2 separate regions of the Homo sapiens genome follow, and region 1 is linked to region 2. Evidence: promoter capture Hi-C in human tissues and cell types (Jung and others, 2019). All regions are on one chromosome and are shown on one strand. Each heading gives the region's core, a stretch centred on a gene start or on the middle of the fragment in contact. The rest is flanking DNA. Distances are from core to core; before and after follow the strand shown. Region 1 has its middle 3.7 kb from the start of ELMOD1. Region 2 holds the start of SLN (sarcolipin).

Evidence for each region. The method cuts DNA at HindIII sites, captures the fragments that hold promoters and counts their contacts. A contact is called where the count stands out against the background at its distance.
Region 1: a fragment that was not itself captured here is called in contact with the fragment with the promoter of SLN in region 2 in 4 of the 25 tissues and cell types used here (H1 embryonic stem cells, dorsolateral prefrontal cortex, heart right ventricle and 1 more).

Annotation. Positions count from the first base shown.
Region 1 is chr11:107,585,737-107,589,141 of GRCh38, reverse strand. It overlaps the pseudogene SUCLG2P3. Among named protein-coding and RNA genes, the nearest start is that of ELMOD1, 3.7 kb to the left of the region's middle. The HindIII fragment of the contact is 4,248 bases long and covers 1-3,405 here.
Region 2 is chr11:107,710,679-107,714,347 of GRCh38, reverse strand. SLN (sarcolipin) reads left to right here and starts at 2,292. Exons shown (of 2, transcript NM_003063.3): 1 at 2,292-2,385. The HindIII fragment of the contact is 6,706 bases long and covers 1-3,669 here.

The sequences.
Region 1 (3,405 bases), core at 838-3,337, 130 kb after region 2:
ACCTAAACTGTAAATAATCACTAAGGACAGAAGTCTAGTAATTCTGTTAATTTTTGTCTTTGTGTTATCCATCAAATTACGCTATAGAGTCTTGACTCATCCTTCCAAAAAACATCAATAAAAATATTAATATTGGCTCTAGGCCAAACAAATGACATGGACATGGATCTCTGCCAGTTTGTTGCTGAACCAGTGACTTTTACTCCTTTCAGTTGATTCCCTCAGCTAAAACTTTCCTAAACTCAAACCACTCAAGGTAGGTAGCTGCAATCCCATGTGATGAATGGAAAATGGTAGGGGAGGGCTAGAGAGTTTAATCTCCACAACAAATTATATCCTTTATCTAACCTTTAGGAATGGCATTTCTAAAATGTCCAGAATCAACCTGGATCCCCAGATCTCCTGCATCCCAAAAGTCTCTTCCAGGGTCTTGCACACCACTCCCACCCTCTCACCTTTTCACCATCTTTGGCCTCTATTTATGTCAATAGTTATTCTCTGTCATACATCTTCTGTTTGAATCTACCTACTGTCTGAATGACAAGCTTTTCTCTCTGATTCTCTTATTGTCTAAGTGTGAGGCAGCCTTGGTATCACTTAGAACTGACTTCTTCAAAGCATATTTGTACACATGTATGCCATAGCAATTAGAGACAATCTCGCCACTGTTTAATGTGAGTAATTCAAGGGGAGGGTCTCATTCATCTTTGTATTACAGAACTTAGCAGATGACCAATATGTAATAGATACTCAAGGAAAAGTGTGAAAGGAATGAATGAATGTAAGCAGGTTCTCAACTCTATGTGGCTCCTTAGACTATAGTTCTTTTCTAATTGGTTTTCTTGCTAACCCTAGAATTGCTTCACCAGGATCTGGCTCAGTTTTTCTTTTCATAATTTCTCTTCCACCACAAATCCACAGATTTCTCCACCTCTGGGTCCTGCATTATTTTGGGATAAAAATACCTATTGAACAGATTAACATGCAGTCAACAGAGAGGGTATTTGAAGAAACTGAGATCATGTGATGTAGCATTTACAGGTAATGAGTGAAGAATCCAGAGAGGAGAATGTTGTGCCTCTACAGCCTCCCCAGAGTTACAGCCGGAGAGCTGAAGAGGAAGGGGAAGAGCTAGGAGATGCTTTGTCATCAGCTTAGACTCCATACTGGCCCATTACAAGTGACACAGAATTTGAGTCTTTTCCAGACAGGTGGATATATTTCCTTGCTCAGAAGATCTGTTACTGAACATTATCATTTAGAATTTATTTGACTATAAATGTCCTCACCTAGAAATGTCTTCCTTTAGCAAAGGGTAGATTGAGCAATGGACAAGCAAGTTGGAATTTCCTGCCTGGATCATTTTGTGGGTGGGGTGGAAGTCATGGCCCATTTATGTATTTGTAATCTAGCACTGGTCTTAAGCACTGTGGGAGGAAAGTATTCTTCGATGTATTGGCTTCATAATAAAACTAGAAAGGGAATCTTTGGACTTAAAAAGCATGAAGTCTTGTCTAATTTTGCCTAATTGTTGTGTAAAGCTTAGAAATTAATGTAAGGCCACTCTGCTTTCCAATGGAATGGATTTTATAGGCTTATGGTATTCTGGACGTAAAACCACAGCAGCAGCTGGATTCAACATGCTCATTAATATCTATAGTGATAAAATTGTGACTGAGATTACATGAGGGTTAATCATCATGTTAGAGAATGCGTTAAACTAAACAAACTAAGACTCTCAGACATGCTGCTGTGGCAGTCCTCTAAATGTGATCTCGAGAGGGTTTCCAGTGGCACAAGGACTCATCCAAACCGTAATTCATGTCATAACCATTTATTAAGCACTTAGTATATATAAGGCACTATACTAGATACTGGGGATACAAAGCTGGATAAGACACTATGATTTTCAGGAACTCAGATCTGGACAGAAGCATACACACCGCTCCCTGCCCCAACACACACACACACAATGTAGGCTTTTTCTCAAGGTTGGTTTCCAATGTAGAATTAAATCTGTATGAAGTACCCTTCTCGCTGGGCATGGTGGCTGTTTCCTATAGTCCCCATTACTTGGGAGGCTGAGGTGGGAGGATCAATTGAGCCCAGGAATTTGAGACCAGCTTGGGCAACATAGTGAGACCCATCTCAATAAAATGAGGAAAAAAGGTCCCTTCTTCTCTCATCTCAGTTACCTAGTCAGACTCCTCTGTGCCTGGTTTTTGTTTAAGGTGTCATTCTCCTATGACAATGCAGGTCAAAAAATTTTGTGAATGCTGGTGCTCAGGCCCCACTCCTTTCAGAGAAGTCCAAGGGAGTTGAATTAACATCTAAAAGATGGCTGCTCCTGCAGGTACCTAAGAGCAAGAAACTGATGTCAGAAAACAGGGTAAAAGTTAGAATATTTCGTAACTGGCACTGGGTGTGATGTTCCCACAATAAAGTTTTAATGGGCTAATCCTGCAATGGCCTTTACTGATGGCAGCCTCCAGGAGAGGCGTTATAAGTGGCAGCTTCTTACCGGAATTTATTTTTAAGGAGGAAATTTACATTTTGAGGGCATAGAGAACAGTCAAGTTTAGTAAAGGGGAGAAAATGTAGGCTTCTACAGGTCTACAAAAATCAGGCTTAACCAGCTGTTTTACTGCTTCCTGAAATTATATGCTACTTAGCTTGAAGTGAAACCTTTGGTGAAACTCTGGAATGATAGGTTGTCTATTTTGATGTCATGATAAACCTTGAGGACAATGCAGAATGTCCACAAAAAACATATTTGGCATGGCCAACAAATTCAAGGTGTGTCTATCGAAAATGAAGCAACCAGATATGATCTAAAATTAAAACTAGATGGGAATCCTTACTAAGTGATGCTGGGCCATACATGGCTCTCTGAGACGTTATTACCCTTAATGATCAAAGCCCAGCCAACTTCTTAGATATTAGCAGTAGTGTAGAGGAAGCTCAGGTGTACTAAACATTTAAATTGCTCATTGCTGATCCTAAGTTTGAAATCACCGTCAACATTGTTTTAGGTGTGATAGTGAATTTTGCTGTCATTGCCAATGGCATCATCAAACACTGCTGAGAACTAGAACTCATGGCCCCTCTGGTGGTCAAGTTTGAAGGATTCAATGTCCAGGGGCCTTAAAATATGCTTAATAGCATCTAACTAACTCCCCATTACTTATGGCATTGACTTGGAGGATACAGCTAAGAAGGCTGTGGCCAGCATGGCAAAGAAATAGCCATGCTTCTTCTTTCTAATCCACTGGGAGGAGAAATCTCCATCCTAAAAAAAGGGGTGAATATCATCACTGAGAAAAAAATATCTATCCACTTGGGGAAAAAGGGGAAGGTGTAGAAGAGGGTCAGTAATCAGTAATAAAAAATCTTAAAGCTGTTCTG
Region 2 (3,669 bases), core at 1,043-3,542:
AAGAAACCACTAATTTTCAGAAGCGTCTGAAGTCTGGGAATTTGTCAATGCACTGGGCACAGTAGTCCTTGGTGCAGCTTAGACATGCTTAAATGAGGCAAACCAGACTAACCCATCAATTCGGTCAAATAAGAAGTAGAATTTTTCTTCTAAGTTACTTTGAAATTGACCAATTCAACAAAATGACAACATTGGAGAGCTCTTTTGGTGATACGTTAACATTTCGCTATTGTATTTAACATTTTAAATATTGTAGAGCTAATTCATAATCTGAGATGTACAAAATAAATGCTTATCCCATAAACCTAATATCAACACATGATATACTACAAATAATTTGATTCCAAATGAATTAAGAAAAAAGGTTTTCAAGTTTCAGATTCTTTTACCAAAAATATCCTGGGAATTTGAGATTGTGCCTATGCAGCCTCAAACGGATGAATAAAAAGTAATGTAGGCCGGGCACCCGGTGGCTCACACCTATAATCCTAGCACTTTGGGAGGCTGAGGCGGTTGGATCACCTGAGGTCAGAAGCTCAAGGCCAGCCTGGCCAACATGGTGAAGCCCCATCTCTACTAAAAATACAAAAATTAGCCAGGCATAGTGGTGCATGCCTGTAATCCCAGCTACCCAGGAGGCTGAGGCAGGAGAATCGCTCGAACCCGGGAGGCGGAGGTTGCAGTGAGCTGAGATCACGCCACTGCACTCCAGCCTGGGTGACAAGAGCAAAACTCCATCTCAAAAGAAAAAAAAAGTAAAGTAAAGTTTTGTTTTTTTCCCCTTTGGGTGGTGAGATTAAAAGTAATTTAAAAGTTTTAAATACTTTAATATATTTTCACATGTCCTACAATAAATATATAACTTTTTTAATTTGACAAAAAATAATTTTGAGTGGTTACAAAAAGGGACAGGTGTGGCTTGGTAACTAGAAAAACATTCCCAGCCTGGGAAACAATCTAGTGAGAGCTTGGAGGCAGAAGACAGAACTCTGATTACATTCAAGGAGTTTGCCAGATGGCAACAGATAACTGCCAATGTTCGGTTGCACTATAATTATTATACACTCTCTGTCACTTCAGCAAGCGCTCTTTTCACAAGACAAGTGGTGACAGAATGTTGTATTAAGATTACCCGTTGCTAAGCTTATGTTAAAATGAGGAAATGAAATGGAAAGTCTTGTTTTGGTAATGTCTCTGGGGTATGAGGAATGGAGGGAAAGGTTTGACTATGAGCATAACTGCATAGAGAATTTTGTTTGTTTATGCCTTTTGGGAATGCATTATTTTGATTGACCCTAATTGGGAATTCAGAGGGGGAGATTTCCTCTATTATCTATAAAGAAAGGATCTGCTGAGCAAACACAATTGCTAGGGTCATGTTTAAAGTACTTAATTGATCTGCTTTCAAGTCTAATTTAACACTTCAGGGGCTCCAAACATGTGATACATTGGTTACAAACTCATCTTAGTCTAATTTTAGTTAGTGTTCATATTAGAAAGTTATATAATACTTTTCTTTCTTTCAGATATATTCTATAATTCACATTTTTCACTAATTTTACCCAGTTCTCCTTCCACTCCCAATCTATCCAAATAACTGAGTTGAACTGTGTGAGTTTACTGCTCTATTAATTTATTGCCAGAGATATACAAACCATGACTTCCTCGGCTGTTTCAGATGAAACTGTAGATCCACGTGTAAACTTGCAATGCACAGCTTAGCTGGAAAGTTACGTGGAGCAGGTGACGGAGGGGATAGCTTTCACTGCTTGGACTAAAGTCAGTTTTGAAAGAGCTAAAGATGCCTATTGAATTCTGGAGTGTGTGTGTGTGTGTATGGGTGTGCATATGTGTGGGTGTAAGGCAGCAAACTCTTCACATTTCAAATAACTAAAGATATGGGTGGTAAAATGAAGTCACATTTTTACACCTCACAGGCTGACTAGGGAGAGCAGTCAAATGCAGCATCGATTGGTTAAAATTAGTCTATCATTCTTGGTTTATGATGTTTTAAAGACATGTTAAAGTTATTCATGAAGATGTAAAAGACACATTTAAAACCCACATCAATTGCACTAAAAGTCAACTGGAAACAGAAGGTTTTTAAATCCTGGTGGTGGCAAATTGGCAGCCAAAGGAACAAAGTCTTAGTCAACATATTTCCATGTCCCCCGAACACAAATAGCCTCGAACCTTCGGAGGGTGTTCCTTTGAGATGTTTCATCAGTGACATCACAGTGATTGCCAGCTTCCACGGACTACTTTAGGCGCTGCCCAGAGTCCAGGAGTCCAGACAGCCTGGGAGGGGAGAAGGAGTTGGAGCTCAAGTTGGAGACAGCGAGGAGAAACCTGCCATAGCCAGGGTGTGTCTTTGATCCTCTTCAGGTAACTGCAGGATTTTTATGCTTAGCATACGGTGTGTGTGTGTGTACAAGCTGCAAATGAGAAAGGCAGAGGAATGTTTGCATTTCTTAATGAAATAGGCAATGCCCCTTGGATACAGCATGCCTTAAGATATAAAGTGAGTACTATTGCTTTCTGTTTTCCTTTTTTTTTCTCCTAAGGGTATGCATTTTCTCCCTTCCTAGTAAAAAAAAATTTTTTTTCTTTCTTGTATTATGGAAGATGGTCTTTTTTCTATCTTCTCTAAGTCTCCATTCAAAGAAAGCCAATGTCAAACTTCCTGCACAATTTATTCAGAGCTTTTTGGGTTTTAGTTCATCCATTTGCAATCACTGGATCATATGGCATGACCTTGACTTCAGGGAATGTTTAAAATGAAACCCAAAGTGTCTTTATTGGTTAAAAGCAGAAAAATGGAACTTGGCTGATCTGAATTTCTGCCTAACTGGTTCATTCTTCCTAAAGTGTATAAATGTGTGTGAAAGGAATGTTCACACCACACCTTACAGTTAGCATATGTGTTGATTGAATTGAATTCACTAGAAATTCTCACCTTAACTCTTCATGTTTTATTCATCTAAAATCACATAAAACAACAAATATTCAAGGTCACCATTAAAGTGCAAGAAGTAGTAAGAGGTAAATCCCAAGAAAGAAAGAAGTGTGATGGGTAGCCTGCTAATTCAGAAATGACTGAAAAAAAAAAAGTTAAGAGTGCATAAACATACACAGTTTAAACAATAACTGAAAGGCAACACTTCTATAATTATCATCCAGGTCAAGAAACAGATCATTGCCAGCACCCAGAAGCCCATTCTTGATCAACCCCCATTCTGCCCCAAGATGTTGGGATCCTCTTGTCCCTGTTATTCTTTATAATTTGACCATCTATGTCTGCATGCCTAAACAATATGATTAACCTCCCTATTTTTGACATCATATAAATGGAGTCATATTCTCTGTTTCTTTTGTAAATTCTTCTTTCACCCAACAATTATATTTGTGAGATCTACCCATTTTCTGTGTAGCTATAGTTCATATATTTTCTTTGCTTTATGAAATTCAAATGTATAACTATACCACAATTTATCATCCATTCTGCTGTTGATAAACATTTGAGTTGTTTCCAGTTTGGAGTTATTGTGATAATATTGCTGTGAACTCTTTATTTATGTAACCTGGCACGCACGTCCTTGACTGTCTTAAGGTAGAAGTGAAATGCCAGATATTAGAGAATGAACATTTTCAACATTAATTCTAAGAAAG